4 separate regions of the Homo sapiens genome follow, and regions 1, 2 and 4 are each linked to region 3. The links are contacts of gene promoters, found by promoter capture Hi-C in human tissues and cell types (Jung and others, 2019). All regions are on one chromosome and are shown on one strand. The core of a region is centred on a gene start or on the middle of the fragment in contact, and the rest is flanking DNA. Distances in the headings are between cores, read along the strand shown.

Region 1 (3,862 bases), core at 505-3,004, 190 kb after region 3:
GCATTGTGAACGCTTGGAAAGTATGTCCTTCCAGTCTTTTTTCTATACCAGGAGACAGTGTGAGTCGTGGTGGGGGCATAGACACCAAAACCTGCTCAGCATCACACCTTAGCTCTGTGGCTTTCTAGCATATGACTGACTTTGGCAGGTTGTTTAACTTCTCCGTGCTGTAGTTTCCCCATCTGTGAACTGGGGATAATAACAATACCTAACATTTGTGTAATGATTAAGTAAGTCAACATCTCTGCAGTACTTAGAACAGTGCCTGCCACATAGAAAGCCCTTAGTTACTGAGCTTTTTTTTTCCTTTTTACAAAGATGAAAAGTGGTATATATTCTATTGTTACCTTTTTTCACTTTTTTTTTTTTTTTTTTTTTTTTTTTGAGGCAGAGTCTAGCTCTGTTGCCCAGACTGGAGTACAGTGGCATGATCTCAACTCACTGCAACCTCCACTTCTCAGGTTCAAGTGATTGTCCTGCCTCAGCCTCCTGAGTAGCTAGGATTACAGGCATGTGCCACCACGCCCAGCTAATTTTTGTATTTTTAGTAGAGACGACGTTTCTCCATATTGGCCAGGCTGGTCTTGAACGCCTGGGCCTCATGTGATCCACCCACCTTGGCCTCCCAAAGTGCTGGGATTACAGGTGTGAGCCACCACGCCCGCCCCTTTTTTCACTTTTTAAACTCAGGATATTGTGAGCATGTTTCCATGTATATATACATTCATTGTTAGCCATATTTTATGTTATGACCATCTTTGATTAATTTACTATTCTCCACTGTTATTTCCAATTTTTTGCTATTATATGCTGAGTTGGATGTCCCTATAAATAAATCTTCATTTCTGTAAATAAATTTCCTTTAAATAAATTCTTAGGGGTGAAAGTACTAGGTCACAAGGTAAATATACAGGTAAGACTTTTGATACATATTACCAAATACTTTCCAGAAATTATGTATCCGTGTATGCCCCCACCATCAGGCTAAAAGTCAGTCCCAGGCTTCTGGCTTTGAGGATACTGTTCGCTGTCCTTATTGTTTATAGCTGCTTTCCTGACATTGGATCTGTAAGAGGAGTTGGTGAATTTACGTTGGTGAATTTCTTTGTTTTTTTGAGACGGAGTTTCACTCTTGTTGCCCAGGCTGGAGTGCAATGGCACAATCTCGGCTCACTGCAACCTCTACCTCCTGGGTTCAAGCGATTCTCCTGCCTCAGCCTCCCAAGTAGCTGGGATTACAGGCATGTGCCATGACGCCCAGCATATTTTTTGTATTTAGTAGAGACAGGATTTCACCATGTTAGTCGGGCTGGTCTTGATCTCCTGACCTCAGGTGACCCACCCACCTCGGCCTCCTAAAGTGTTGGGATTATAGGCATGAGCCACCTCGCCTGGCGGTGAATTTCTTTTGACAGGAAATAGTCAAAAGAATTTTAAAAGGTTTTTTTAAAGATCACGTGTTACGTATGGCCTTTGTACAAAGTATGCCTGTGGGACAGCTTTTTCTGGGGAACATGGAGCTAATGAGGTCCACTTATTCGTCACAGCCTCCATAGCTGTCAATTTGGCAGTTAATGAGCTACAAACGTCTGGAATTTCCACTGAGTCAGGCAAGCCAGTGTTTGTTCTCTGGCTGATGGCTTGGGTTTGGAAAGAGACTATGAGTCAAGCTTCCATGGCCCGAGAGCCTGGATTTTGCCACAGCAGAAAAAAAAAAGAACAGATTGACATAGTCTTAACACATGATTAAACTGCTAGGTGACACCGTGGCATGACTTCCACTCTTGGGTAGAGCAGGCAACAAAGGAGTCGCCATTCGCCCACAGTTTCCAAGGCAAAAGGAGGTGAAGTAACTTGCTCAAGTTCAGTCTGATCTCTTGATTCCAGTTCACCGTGATTGAATATTTATACCATCTCCTTGCCTTTGACTGTTATATCTTTATTTTGTTTTGTTTTAACTGTTACTTATGCAATTCAAAGGTATGATACTTTGCATATTACAAATGTGTTGCACATTAAATAATAACAATAAGTATCGAGCACTCTACTATGAGCAAGGTACACTGTCCTAAGCAATTTAAAAAAAAAATTTTTTTTTTTTAAATAGGATCTCACTCTGTCACCCAGGTTGGAGTGCAGTGGTGAGATCACGGCTCACTGCAGCATTAACCTCCTGGGCTCAAGCAATCCTCCTGCCTCAGCCTCCCGAGTAGCTGGGACAACAGGTGTATGCCACCGTGCCCGGCTAATTTTTGTATTTTCTGTAGAGACAGGGTTTCGTCATGTTGCCCAGGCTGGTCTTGAACTCCTAGGCTCTAGTGATCCACCTGCCTCAGCCCCTCAAAGTGCTGGGATTACAGGCATGAGCCATTGAATCGGCCTGTCCTAAACAATTGATACGCATTCTTATTTAATTCTCATCACAACCTACTGAGGTCACTAGTAGTACTGCCTCATTAAATGGATGAGTAAACTGAGATTCAAAGAGGTAGGCTAAGTCATTTGCCCAAAGTCACATACCTCGAACTTGAACCTGGGTCAGCCTGATGCCAAAACCTGCTCTTAGCCACTCTGCTACACCGATCTAGTCTTCAGGGTCCATATTGCTAGGAAGCGCTCGGAATACAGTATGCTCTAAATGGGAGGTAGCCACCCTTCTGGTTCCATGCTATCATTGGCCAGTAAAATTGCACGTATATTCTCATTGCCGATTAGAAAAAAATAAGAAAAAAAAACTAGAGTATTTATAGATCCTCATGTGTTTTGTTTCTTTGATTGATTGTTTGTTTGTTTGTTTGTGAGACAGGGTTTCACTCCTATTACCCAGGCTGGAGTGCAATGGTGCGATCTCGGCTCACTGCAACCTCTGCCTCCTGGGCTCAAGTGATCTGCCTGCCTCAGCCTCCCAAAGTGCTGGGATTTCAGGTGTGAGCCACCTGCCTGGCTAGAGTTATTTTCAAAGCCCACAAGTGTGGCCCCTGCAATGGCAGTCTTACAGCAAGATATTGTACTAAGAGGCAGAAGCTGAGGGAGCAATCAGCCTAAGGAGAAGCATTGCCCACTGTGAAGGAATTGCAGCCGAGAGAGCTCATGAAGAGAATTTGCTGAAGAACAAGTGCCATGAGAGAAAGAGGCAGCTTTAGCTATCTGTCAGGCCAGGGAAATGTCACAAGAGTTCTAGTCAAGTAGGAACTTTCTTACCGTCTTCTGCCCTTCTTCCTCCCTGATTACAACCCTTAACTATAGTTAAGGCCAGACATGGTGGCTCACACCTGTAATCCCAGAAATCTAGGAGGCCAAGGCAGGTGGATGACTTGAGGTCAGGAGTTCGAGACCACCCTGGCCAACATGGTGAAACCCCGTCTCTACTAAAAATACAAAAATTAGCCGGGCGTGGTGGTGCGCACCTGTAATTCCAGCCACTCTGGAGGCTGAGGCAGGAAAAAAAAATCACTTGAAACCAGGAGGCAAAGGTTTCAGTGAGCTAAGATTGTGCCACTGCTCTCCAGCCTGAGCAACAGAGTGAGACCCTGCTTTTTAAAAAAAACAAAAACAAAAAACAGGGCAGGCGTGGTAGCTCATGCCTGTAATCCCAGAACTTTGGGAGGCCGAGGTAGGTGGATCACTTGAGATCAGGAGTTCAAGACCAGCTTGGCCAACATGGTGAAACCCGGTCTCTACTAAAAATACAAAAATTAGCCAGGCCTGGTGGCGTGCACCTGTAATCCCAGCTACTCGGGAGGCTGAGGCAGGAGAACTGCTTGGACCCAGGAGGTGGAGGTTGCAGTGAGCCGAGATTGCACCACTGCACTCCATCCTGGGTGACAGAGTGAGACTATCTAAAAAAATTAAATAAATTAAA
Region 2 (4,045 bases), core at 211-2,710, 140 kb before region 3:
AATAACTCCAGAAACAAATGAAGCGATTTTTAAAAACAGGGCACAGTGAGGTGAATTAACTCGCCCCAGGTCACACAGTGAATACACAGCAGAGTCAGAACTTGAACCAGGCACAGGCAGACTCCAGCATCCCCTTCTACTCTTGGGTTAGTATACTTATATCTACTGTTGCATATGTATGGAATAGAAGGTCTGGAAGCATGTACATCAAAGTGATTTTTCTTTACTAGTGAGATTATTGGGGAGGGAGGGGGGCTTTCACTTTCTATTCTTCACAATCATGTATTATTTCTTCTTTTCATAACCTGCATTAATTTTATATTTAGGAAAAAGTGAAAAGATGTGGTTTTGATCTGGTGCTCCAAATTGATAATGTTTATCAAAGGCTTTAAAAATATCCTAAGGGAATAATCACATGTAGTCAAGAGGATACAAGACTGTTTCTGGAATCACTGATCTTCAACCCACTGCTTTATCACCTGACACAGTGCAGCACCTGTTGCTGGAACATTCCACAGCCTTTAGGAGTGGAGTTTTGAAGAACATGCAATGACATGAGAAAATGTTAATGACATAGAGTTAAATATAGAAAGGAGGGTATGAAATTGTATACAGAGTATGATGCCATTGGTGTTTTTAAACAATTCCAGGCTGGGTACAGTGGTTCACGACTGTAATCCCAACACTTTGGGAGGCCAAGGTGGGGGAATAGCTTGAGCCCAGGAGTTTCAGACCAGCCTGGGCAACAAAGTGAGACCCCCCCCATCTCCACAAAAAAATGAAAAAATTAGCCGGGCATGGTGGTGTGTGCCTATGGTCCCAGCTACTCAGTAGTCTGAGGCAGGAGGATTGCTTGAACCTAAGGGGTTGAGGCTGCAGTGAGCCAAAATCATGCCACTGCACTCCTGCCCAGGTGACAGAGTGAGACTGTGGAAAAAAAAAATTAAAAAAAAATTTTTAATCCTATATAGAAATACTAGAAAAATGCACCAAATATTAATAACAGTTATCTTTGGATGTCAGGGTTATGGTAACTTTAAGCTTCTTTCTACTTTTCTTCATTTTCTATGATAATTGTATGTAACTTTTCTACTCAGATAGAACAATAACAAAACAACTAATGTTTACTAGTGTTTTCTGTGCTAGGTATGTTACATGTTCCATCTTATTTAATCTTCACCACAAACTTATGAGTAGATGTGAGGGAATGAAGACTTAGAAATGGGAAGTAATTTGTCCATTGTCACACAGCTGGTATGTGGTGAGGCTGGGGTCTGAACCCAGACAATCTAACTGCAGAGGCCACTCTCAACCACTATAGATGCTATTTTTCTTTAAAATAAAGATAGTACTTCAAGGGCTGGCTCCTGTTCATCTTGCCCAGTAGGCACAATGGAGACCTGAAGCACAGCCACCATGGATCGTTGGGCAGGCTGTGCTCTGCTTGCTAAGCGGTGAGTCTTGGCAAGGAACTGTATCCATCTGGAGAAAGAGGTGCTTTTTCATAAAAATGTGAATTAAAACCACAGTGAGCTGCTACTACATACCTACCAGAAACATTAAAAAGATGGACAATACCAGCCAGGTGTGGTAGCTCATGCCTGTAGTCCCAGCACTTTGGGAGGCTGAAGTGGGGTGGATCATTTGAGCTCAGAAGTTCGAGACCAGCCTGGGCAATATAGTGAAACCCCGTCTCTGCAAAAAATACAAAAATTTAGCCCAGCATGGCCACACATGCCTGTAGACCCAGCTACTTGGGAGGCTGAGGTGGGAGGATCACTTGAGCTTGGGAGGTGGAGGTTGCAGTGAGCTGAAATCGTGCCACTGCACTCCAGCCTGGGTGACAGAGCAAGACTCTGTCTCAAAAATAAAATAAAATAAAATAAAATTAGACCAAATGTTGATGAGGCTGTGGAGCAACTGGAACTCTCATTCATTGTTGGTGACAAAGTGATACATTGTTGGTGGTGCAATAAAATGGTACCACCACCTTGGAAAAAGATCTGTCATTTTTTTGTAAAATAAAACATACACCTACCCTGTGACCCAGTCGTTGTACTCCTAAGTATTTACTCAAAAGAAATGAAAACACAAATTCACAAAAAGCCTTGTAGAAGAGTGCACATAGCACCTTTCTCATAATAGCCCCAAATTGTCAACAGCCCGGGTGTCCATCAATAGGAAAATGGACAAACGAACCGCAGTATAGGCCTACAAAAGAATACTCCCCATTAATAAAAAGGAATGAATTAATGATATGCAGGAACAACATGGATGAATCTCAAAACACTACATTGAATGAAAAAAGCCTTACATGAGAGATTATATAAGGTATCATTCCATTTATATGAATTTTCAGGACAGGCAAAACCAATCTACTGTGGAAAAATATTGGTACAGTGGGTTGCCTAGTGTGCTGGAGGGGAGAGTATTGACTGGGAAGGGGCATGAGGGAACTTCCTGGAGTGAGGGGAATATTCTTTATTTTGAGAGGGTTTGGGATCACAGGTGTATGCATTTATGAAAACTCAATAAAAAGCACTTGTGCATTTCATCATATATAAATTTTACATCAAAAGGATAAAAGTTGTGAGCAAATATATGTGCATGCTGAAGTAGTTAAGGAAATTGTATTGATGTCTGCAATTTACTTTAAAATTTATAATGAAGTCGAAGCATTAATGAATGTCTAGAGGGATGGCTTTATGTGAAAGAAAAGCAAGTACAGTACAACATTCATAGAATTTAAATGGTGAGTTTAAGGATATTCACTATAAAATGCTTTCAACTTTTGCTGTGATGTTTGAAAACTTTCATAATAAAACATTGAAAAACAGGCTTCCTGTACACAAACATAATTATGAAAGAAGCCAGGCACAAAAGGACACACGATGTGTGATTTCATTTAGCTAAAGGACAAAATGAACTGATGAGATTAGAAGTCAGGATAATGGTCAGGACAGGGGAGTGAGGGGGTGTGTGTTACTGGGAAAGTTCTGCTTTTGCACCTAGGTATGGATGGCGGTGTTCAGATTGTGAAAATTCATGATTGGTGCACTTTTCTATAATGTATATTACACTTTTCTGTACATATGTGTATTGTACTTAATAAAACTGGGTTTTAAAAGACTTGTCATGTTACCAACTCCTGCTTCAATCAATATTTGGTAATAATTCACCATCTGTCTTACTCACAGAGAAATGTGGGTTCAAATTCTGGTTCTGCCACTTAGCAGCTGTGGGATCACACAAGTAACCTCCATGGGTCTCAGTTTTCTCCTCTGTTAGGAGGAATAATGACATCTCTCTCAGGGGAGGTGATGTTGAGATGGAAGGAGACCATACACACTCATTGCTTGACCCTGTGCCTGCCACATGGTATTAGGTTGGTGCAAAAGTTGACGAGTTTTTGCCATTAAAAGTAATGGCAAGAACCGCAATTACTTTTGCACCAACTTAATAACTGCTTTCAACGAGATTAAACGGTGGTGATTAATCAGTACCCTCAGGCTTCCCCTGTTTTCACCACCACCAGGGATGTCAGGACTGGGCAGCAAGAAAGGCTTTTGGATTGGCTGAGGTCCTTTGGGCCACTTGCTTAACTTCAACTTCTCTGAGCCTCAGTTTCCTCATCTACAAAGTACAGATGATAATTCCTGCTGGGCGGGGTTGCCGTTAGCACCAGAAAAACTTTAGATCCATTAGCTTGAAGATGTCCAGGGTTTTCTAAGGACCTTCTTGTGTTTTTTGTGTTTTTTTTGTTTTTTTTTTTGTTTTGTTTTTTGAGACAAGGTCTCACTCTGTTGCCCAGACTGGAGTGCAGTGGCTCGATCTCAGCTCACTGCAACCTCCATCTTCCAGGCTCAAGTAATTCTCCTGCTTCAGCCTCCCAAGTACCTGGGATTATAGGCATGTGCCACTACTGCCCGGCTAATTTTTGTATGTTTTAGTGGAGACGGGGTTTCACTGTGTTGGCCAGGCTGGTCTTGAACTCCTGACCTCAAATGATCCACCTGCCTCAGCCTCCCAAAGTGCTGGGATTACA
Region 3 (3,742 bases), core at 970-3,469:
TTTTTTTTTTTTTTTTTTTTTGAGACGGAGTCTCGCTCTGTCGCCCAGGCAGGAGTGCAATGGTGCGGTCTCGGTTCACTGCAACTTCCACATCCTGGGCTCAAGCAATTCTCCTGCTTCAGCCTCCCGAGCAGCTGGGATTACAGGTGCCCGCCACCATGTCCGGCTAATTTTTGTATTTTTAGTAGAGACAGGGTTTCGCCATGCTGCCCAGGCTGGTCTCGAACTCCTGATCTCAGGTGATCTGCCCACCTTGGCCTCCCAAAGTGCGAGATTACAGGCATGAGCCACCACGCCCCACCTATTTTTTTCTTAAACTGTTAGAAATGAAGTCTGGGTGTTCCCACATTCCTTAGCAATCCAGGTGTCTTCCTTCCCGTTAATTCCTACATAACCACAGGCCCTCGAAACTACAGGATGCCCTTTTCCTCCATCAAGTTCCTTCTTCCAGTGCTTCTGAGAGGCCCCAAGGAACACTTTCGTGTTCCACAGACCTGTTGGGGCTGCGTCTTGTCCTCTCGGCCAGCCACTTGGGACCAAAGCCTGCTCTTCTCCCTAAGCGTCCCTTGTAACCTGTTTTTCTCGCTGTAGCTTCCCCACACTGCCTTGTCATCAAAGTCATCAAAAACCCTCTATCCATCATGGTTCATTCAGTAGCACAGAAACCTCTCCAGTCTTTCAGACCAAGGGACTTTAATGTAAAGGAGCTCGTCACCCAGAGGATGAAGGAGCTGGGACACTAATCAGGACAGACAGTTCAGAGATTTCCCCAAAGCAGGAAGCTGTGCCATCCCACCAACTGAAAGGAAAGATGAGGGGAGAAGGTGTTGCCAGAGCCAGGAGCTGGCCTCCAAACAGGAACAAGAAAGACATAAGGGGTTGCCTGGCTGATGGACTGTCCAGAGGGAGCCAGAACTGCAGAGGGATATGGCCATTGCTGGGGAAGCCACTCAAACAGAAAACGAGGGGAGAAATGCTCTGATCTCTGCCTCCCCAGTCTTCCCCCAGGGGCTAAACCTATCAGAAAGCAGTTGATAAAGGAGTCTAGAAAATGTAGTTTCCTGCAGTTTCAGGAAATGACTGGCATGGGCCCTACCTTAATTCCTCCAAAGCACAGCTTAGATTTGGCTGTTTTGTCAAACAAACTTTAGCAATCAGGGCTGATAACAATTACAATTCAGGAAAGAAAAACTTAAACACCGATCTCAGCATATCACAGCCCATTACACCCAACCCGTTGGCAGGATCCCTGCTAAAATTTCGCTTGCCTTTGTGTGCTTGGGGCCAGGCAAACTCTCCCCAGGGGCAGGACCCTCCAATCGTGTCCACCCTGACCAGAGTCCAGGCCCCAGGGCCCTTCTACCTTCTCCAGGCCCTGCAGGAAGGAGAAAACCATTTCCTAAACACCTGTCCCTTCATTCACACGAAGCTCATGTGCAGATCCTGCCCTACGTGGCAAAATGATGGGAGAGCAGCCTGAATCTTCATCGTCCCGAACCAAAGCCCCATTCATGAAGTTCAGCCCCATCTCTAGCACAGCAGAAAGAATCACTGAAGTTTGAGTTCCATTTTTTTTCTAAACTTTTGCAGATCCTAGACCCAAAGGCTCAAGGTAAGAGCGGCTGGGCTTCCTCACCCCCAACGGCCTCTCTAGGGGAGAGCTGTTCCCAAGCCCACCCCAAGCGTGGGGACCTGCCTTGATATGGAGGATCAAGGAGGAGCATCGGGTGCCCTCAATCTCCTCCTGCCAGAAAAGCAAAGGAGTCACAGCTTTTCCTTTGCTGCAAGAAACATTCTGGGACCTTTTTTTTCCCCCTCTGTTGTCCAGTTATTTTCATCAGGGTAAATCCCCTAGGAATAGAATTATTAAAGCAAAAGATATGTATGTGGTGTAGGCTTTTGATCCACAGTGCCAAATTGCTTTTTGATAAGGCTGCATATCGTGGATTATTCTTGCCTTTTCTGCCCCTCAGCTCCTTGATAAACCACTTGGGATGAATCAGCCACCGGACCAGATAAACAAGCCAGCCTGTTACTATTGCTGTTTTCTGCAAGTCGGAAGGGAACTCCCTTAGATCCCGCCCAGAACCTGGAATTCCAGAGCACACAGGGCCAGGACACCTTTGTACCCCTGCTCCCCACCGGCACAGGTCCCACCCACCCCCTTCTCCCCGCCCCATGCCCGGGTGGAGCCAGCTGCCAGGGCGCCAAGACTCCCAGCCCTCTCTCTGTGCACGGCAGAGTAGAGGCCAAGGGAGGGCTCTGTGCCAGCCCCGATGAGGACGCTGCTGACCATCTTGACTGTGGGATCCCTGGCTGGTGAGTGCCCATCTACCCTGTGGTCAGACCTCCCTTATCCCAGGGGCCAACGATCAGGGTCATCTCCCCAGCACCCTCCCCAGCCCGAGCATAGCCAGTTTCAGTTTCTCCCCTGCTAGGGCTGAGCAGGGTGCCGGGTGTTCACGGAGAAGCAAATGCCCAGCTTAGTTTGCTGGGGGCATGAGAGGGTGCCTCAGACCCTGGGTTCTTCCAGGGACCCAAAGGACCCTCGGGTCTTGAGGGATATAGCCAGCTGTCTGAACTGGGGGTGCTGGATCGCTGCACCTCAGTGAATGGAGAATTGGCCTGGAGGAGGCAGACATCCTTCGGTCCCTCAAACGGTGTCGGCACAGTTTGTACCATCCTTCCTCTGCCTCTCACTTGGCACTGGCCTGACAGGGGAGGAGGAGGAAGGACCGGGGGAAACGAAGCTTGAGTTCACTATTGCCTCCCTCCATGCCCCTGCAGGGCCTCTTTGGCCCCTTTTGTTATCATAGATCTGAAAGAGCATTTTCTCCTAGAGTGGCCAGGTCTGCTACATTAATAGGTCTTAAGACACAGGACTCATTTGGAAACAGGTCTTAAGGGCATAGTGTTCAAAGCCAATAAAGTGAGCGGAGTGGGGGGCTCATCATTATGGAGAACGTTACATGAGACCCTAGACTCTCTCTCTGCTCTCCTGGTGCATTGCATGAAATTCAGGGAACTTCCTTAGGAAGTCAAAGCATAGTCCTGATTGAGGATGGCGAGCAGGTATGGCCTCGGCCAGGCCCTCCTTGCTCAAGTGCAGGACGAGGCCCACGAAAAGGCAGAGCTTCCCACCTTCTCTGCCACTGTCCCGCCAGGGCTGCCTGCGTCTCCAGGGCTTCCAGCTCTGTGGGACCCCCTCCAGTCTGCTTCCCAGCATCAAGCTGGGCGTTCCAGGAAGATGTGAGGCACCCCCTTGAGGCACCAAGACACGTCCCTTTAGACCCTCAGCCATACTGGTTAGAAATCCTAGAGGCTCCCAGCCCTTTGAGATGGGGGACCCCAAGAAATAGCCCTTAGGAGATTGTCAAGGGTCAGCTGCCTCGCGCTGCACACACCGGGCCCTCACCCCCCCAATCTTAGGCTGACTCCAGAGCATGTGGAATTGTTTCTTGTTTGTGTATTTTTCCTTAGCTTCCCAGCTGGTTGACAGAACATTGTTTTTCCACATGAATGTGAAAAAACAAGTTGCCTTTTATAAATCCGCCAGGCTGCCAGGCTCCACACAACACATGTCTCCCCAGATTTCACAATATAGACTTTCACCCGGGAAGTGCCGAAGCAACACAGGCTGAGGAATGGATGATAGATTTGAGGAGGAAAAGGAGCGAGGAGGGTGGGAGAAGAGGGGGAGATCTTGTTAGACCCTGACATCCCTAAAAGACAGGAGTGGGCC
Region 4 (4,208 bases), core at 894-3,393, 240 kb after region 3:
AACTGTAGACCTTCCCTTCAAATCTAAAATCGGCAAAAAGTCACTTAAAATAAGGGACTTCTGTAATAAAGGTTGCCTACAATTAAAAAAAGAAAGAGTTACTGAGCAGTGACCATGGGTGAGGCAGGTGCACTTAAGATACGGGAGTGAACAAAACAAATAATAAGCCTTAACTCCCTTGGAGCGACCATTCTAGTGTCCTATTACTCAAATCAGTCTCCCCCAGCATTCGAGGATCAGAGATTTTAAGGACAATTTGGTTGGTAGCTGGAAACGTGGCTCGGTAAAATGGTCCAAGGTGGGAAGGATAAAAATGAGATTAGGGAGGCCAGGCACGGTGGCACATGCCTGTAATCTCAGCACTTTGGGAGGCCAAGGCGGGCGGTTCACCTGAGGTTGGGAGTTCAAGACCAGCCTGATCAACATGGAGAAACCCCATTTCTACTAAAAATACAAACTTGGCCAGGCGTGGTGGCACATGCCTGTAATCCCAGCTACTTGGGAGGCTGAGGCAAGAGAATTGCTTGAACCTGGGAGGCGGAGGTTTCAGTGAGCCGAGATTGCACCATTGCACCCTAGCCTGGGCAACAAGAGTGAAACTGTCTCAAAAAAAAAAAAAAAAAAAAAGAGATCAGGGAAGAGATGGTTGCCCAGAAGTATAAGAGAGACCCCATGCCCCTCCGTCTATAAGCCTCTAGGGGTTCACCTTGCCTGCCGCCTAGACAGAGCCGATTCATCAAGACAGGAGAATTGCAATAGAGAAAGAGTAATTTATGCAGAGCTGGCTGTGCGGGAGACCGGAATTTTATTATTACTCAAATCAGTCTCCACCAGCATTCAAGGATCAGAGTTTTTAAGGACAGTTTGTTTGGTTGCGGGGAGCCAGTGAGCCAGGAGTGCTGATTGGCCAGGGATGAAATCACAGGGGGTCGAAGCTGTCCTCTTGCGCTGAGTCAGTTCCTGGGTGGGGGCCACAAGATCACATGAGCCAGTTTATGGATTTGGGTGGTGCCAGCTGATCCATCAAGTGCAGGGTCTGCAAAGTATCTCAAGCACTGATCGCAGGAGCAGTTTAGGGAGGGTCAGAATCTTGTAGCCTCCAGCTGCATGACTCCTAAACCTTCCTTCCTTTCTTTCTTTCTTTTCTTTCTTTCTTTCCTTTCTTTCTTTCTTTCCTTTCTTTCTCTTTCCTTTCTTTCTCTTTCTTTCTCTTTCTTTCTTTCTCTTTCTTTCTTTCTCTTTCTTTCTTTCTCTCTCTCTCTTTCCTTCCTTCCCTCTTTCTTTCTTTTCTTTCTTTTTTTTCTTTTCTTTCTTTCTTTCTGACAGAGACCCCTCTGTCGCCCAGGCTGGAGTGCAGTGACGCAATCTCAGCTCACTGCACCCTCCACCTTCCAGGTTCAAGTGATTCTTCTGCCTCCCCCTCTCGAGTAGCTGGTATTACAGCATGCACCACCACACCTGGCTAACTTTTGTATTTTTAGTGGAGGCGGAGTTTCAGCATGTTGGCCAGGCTGGTCTTACCTCCTGACCGCAAGTGATCCACCCGCCTCAGCCTCCCAAAGTGCTGGGATTACAGGCGTGAACTACCACACCAGACCCTAAACCATAATTTCTAATCTTGTGCCTAATATTAGTCCTACAAAGGCAATCTAGTCCCCAGCCAAGAAGGAGGTGTACTTTGGGAAAGGGCTGTTATTGTCTTAGTTTTAAACTAAGTTTCTCCCAAAGTTAGTTCAGCCCAGGAATGAACAAGGACACCTTGGAGGTTAGAAGCAAGATGGAGTCAGTTAAGTTAGATCTCTTTCACAGTCTCAGTCATAATTTTGCAAAGGTGGTTTCACATCTAGGCTGCCCAACTTCTGTGGTCAGGGTCTGGCACCAGATATATGAGTCTGAATTCTGACTCTGCCATTTACAAACTTTGTGACCTCGGCAAATCCAGTCTAGCTGAGCCTCTGGTTCCTCATAGATAAGATCGTGAAAATGAGACAGTCTATCTCCAAGGGCAGTTTGGAGGATAAAGGAGACAGCGCATTTCTTTGTGGTAACATTTAAAATCTACTCTTTTAGCAATTTTGATACGTGTATCATAATATCACATTGTATTCCATAAATATATACAATTATTATTTGTCCATCAAAAATAGAATGAAAACATTTAAAAATAATATATAGTACGGGCCAGGTGTGGTGGCTCACGCCTGTTATCCCAGCACTTTGGTAGGTGGAGGTGGTTGGATCACCTGAGGTCAGGAGTTGGAGACCAGCCTGGCCAACATGGTGAAACCCCGTCTCTACTAAAAATACAAAAATTAGCTGGGCATGGTGGTGCACATCTGTAATCCCAGCTACTCAGGAGGCTGAGGCAGGAAAATCACTTGAACCTGGGAGGCGGAGCTTGCAGTGAGCCAAGATCGTGCCACTGCACTCCAGCCTGGGCAGCAGAGTGAGACTTTGTCTCAAAAAAAAAAAAAAAAAAAAAAAAAAAAATTGGCCAGGCGTGGTGGCTCAAGCCTGAATCCCAGCACTTTGGGAGGCTGAGGCAGGCGGATCACAAGGTCAGGGGATCGAGACCATCCTGGTTAACTCGGTGAAACCCCGTCTCTACTAAAAATGCAAAAAATTAGCCGGGCGTGGTGGTGGGCGCCTGTAGTCCCAGCTGCTTGGGAGGCTGAGGCAGGAGAATGGTGTGAACCTGGAAGGCGGAGCTTGCAGTGAGCTGAGATCATACCACTGCACTCCAGCCTGGGCAACAGAACAAGACTCCATCTCAAAAAAAAAAAAAAAAAAAAAAAAGCCGGGCGCGGTGGCTCACGCCTGTAATCCCAGCACTTTGGGAGGCTGAGGCGGGCGGATCACAAGGTCAGGAGATCAAGACCATCCTGGCTAACATGGTGAAACCCTGTGTCTACTAAAAATACAAAAAAATAATAAAAAAATAGCTAGGCATGGTGGCGGGTGCCTGTAGTCCCAGCTACTTGGGAGGCTGAGGCAGGAGAATGGCGTGAACCCAGGAGGCGGAGCTTGCAGTGAGCCAAGATCGCACCACTGCACTCCAGCCTGGGTGACAGAGTGAGACTCCATCTCAAAAACAAACAAAAAATAAAAATAAAAATAAATATATAGTATGGATTTGAACAACAACAGAAAAGGACACAGTGCTTGTAAAAGGCCTTTCACAGTGCCTGCCACAAAGGAAGCACTCAGGAGAGAGTGGCAAATTTATTTTCTTCACATAGTTAAACCACAACAACATATTGCAACAGTTTGCATGCTGAAGCAGAGATAAGAATCCAGCTGCCTTCTCATAAACCAGACAATTAAAGAGATTTGCCACAAAAAGTTATTTTCATTTAAAAATATGTTACTTCAGGGCGGGCGTGGTGGCTCATGCCTGTAATCCCAGCACTTTGGGAGGCTAAGGCGGGTGGATCACAAGGTCAGGAGTTCAAGACCAGCCTGGCCAACATAGTGAAACCCTGTCTCTACTAAAAACACAAAAATTAGCCAGGTGTGGTGGTCCCAGCTACTCAGGAGGCTGAGGTGGAAGAATTGCTTGAAACCGGGAGGCAGAGTTTGCATTGAACCGAGATCGCACCACTGCACTCCAGCTTGGGTGACAGACTGAGACTCGGTCTCAAAAAAAAAAATTCTATTAACATGCAATAGGATTATTAATTTTTTTTAAGTTCTCAGTTTTAGTCTCTAATACAGCAAGTACTAATAGGTGTAACCTACATCAACAAAAGCTATTTATTGCCAAGGTAACTTTTAAGACGGTAAAGGGTCGCTGAGACCACGAAGTTTGAGAACTTCTGCCCCAGGCTTTCGTGATCTGCCTTTCTCTCGCCAGCTCTTTTGCAATCTGACAACACCCCTGTTTTCTGCCCCATGTGATTAATTGCATAACTGCCATGTTTGAAGGACCTTTTGAGATCTCATCAAAAAACCACTCCTGGCAGGGTGCAGTGGCTCACACCTGTAATTCCAGCACTTTGGGAGGCTGAGGCGGGTGGATCACCTGAGGTCAGGAGTTCAAAACCAGCCTGGCCAAAATAGTGAAACCCCATCTCTACTAAAAATAGAAAAATGGTGGCAGGCACCTGTCATCCCAGCTATTTGGGAGGCTGAGGCAGGAAAATTGCTTGAAGCTGGAAGGAGGCAGCTGCAGTGAGCTGAGATCTCGCCACTGTATTCCAGCCTCCAGC

Evidence for each region. The method cuts DNA at HindIII sites, captures the fragments that hold promoters and counts their contacts. A contact is called where the count stands out against the background at its distance.
Region 1: a fragment that was not itself captured here is called in contact with the fragment with the promoter of IL22RA1 in region 3 in 1 of the 25 tissues and cell types used here (IMR-90 fibroblasts).
Region 2: a contact is called between a fragment that was not itself captured here and the fragment with the promoter of IL22RA1 in region 3, in 2 of the 25 tissues and cell types used here (adrenal gland and bladder).
Region 4: a fragment that was not itself captured here is called in contact with the fragment with the promoter of IL22RA1 in region 3 in 1 of the 25 tissues and cell types used here (mesenchymal stem cells).

Annotation. Positions count from the first base shown.
Region 1 is chr1:23,949,533-23,953,394 of GRCh38, reverse strand. It overlaps LOC124903877 (a long non-coding RNA gene), which reads left to right. Exons shown (of 4, transcript XR_007065541.1): 3 at 319-325. Among named protein-coding and RNA genes, the nearest start is that of PNRC2, 8.4 kb to the left of the region's middle. RefSeq lists a silencer at 3,733-3,862. The HindIII fragment of the contact is 5,689 bases long and covers 1-3,862 here.
Region 2 is chr1:24,279,189-24,283,233 of GRCh38, reverse strand. No RefSeq gene overlaps it. Among named protein-coding and RNA genes, the nearest start is that of GRHL3, 38 kb to the left of the region's middle. The HindIII fragment of the contact is 7,226 bases long and covers 1-4,045 here.
Region 3 is chr1:24,141,617-24,145,358 of GRCh38, reverse strand. It overlaps IL22RA1 (interleukin 22 receptor subunit alpha 1), which reads left to right and starts at 2,219. Exons shown (of 7, transcript NM_021258.4): 1 at 2,219-2,319. The coding sequence starts at 2,277. The HindIII fragment of the contact is 7,521 bases long and covers 1-3,742 here.
Region 4 is chr1:23,896,924-23,901,131 of GRCh38, reverse strand. The region is part of intron 1 of CNR2 (cannabinoid receptor 2); the gene reads left to right. It also overlaps the pseudogene BTBD6P1. Among named protein-coding and RNA genes, the nearest start is that of CNR2, 14 kb to the left of the region's middle. RefSeq lists enhancers at 3,795-3,924, 3,975-4,034. The HindIII fragment of the contact is 4,502 bases long and covers 1-4,208 here.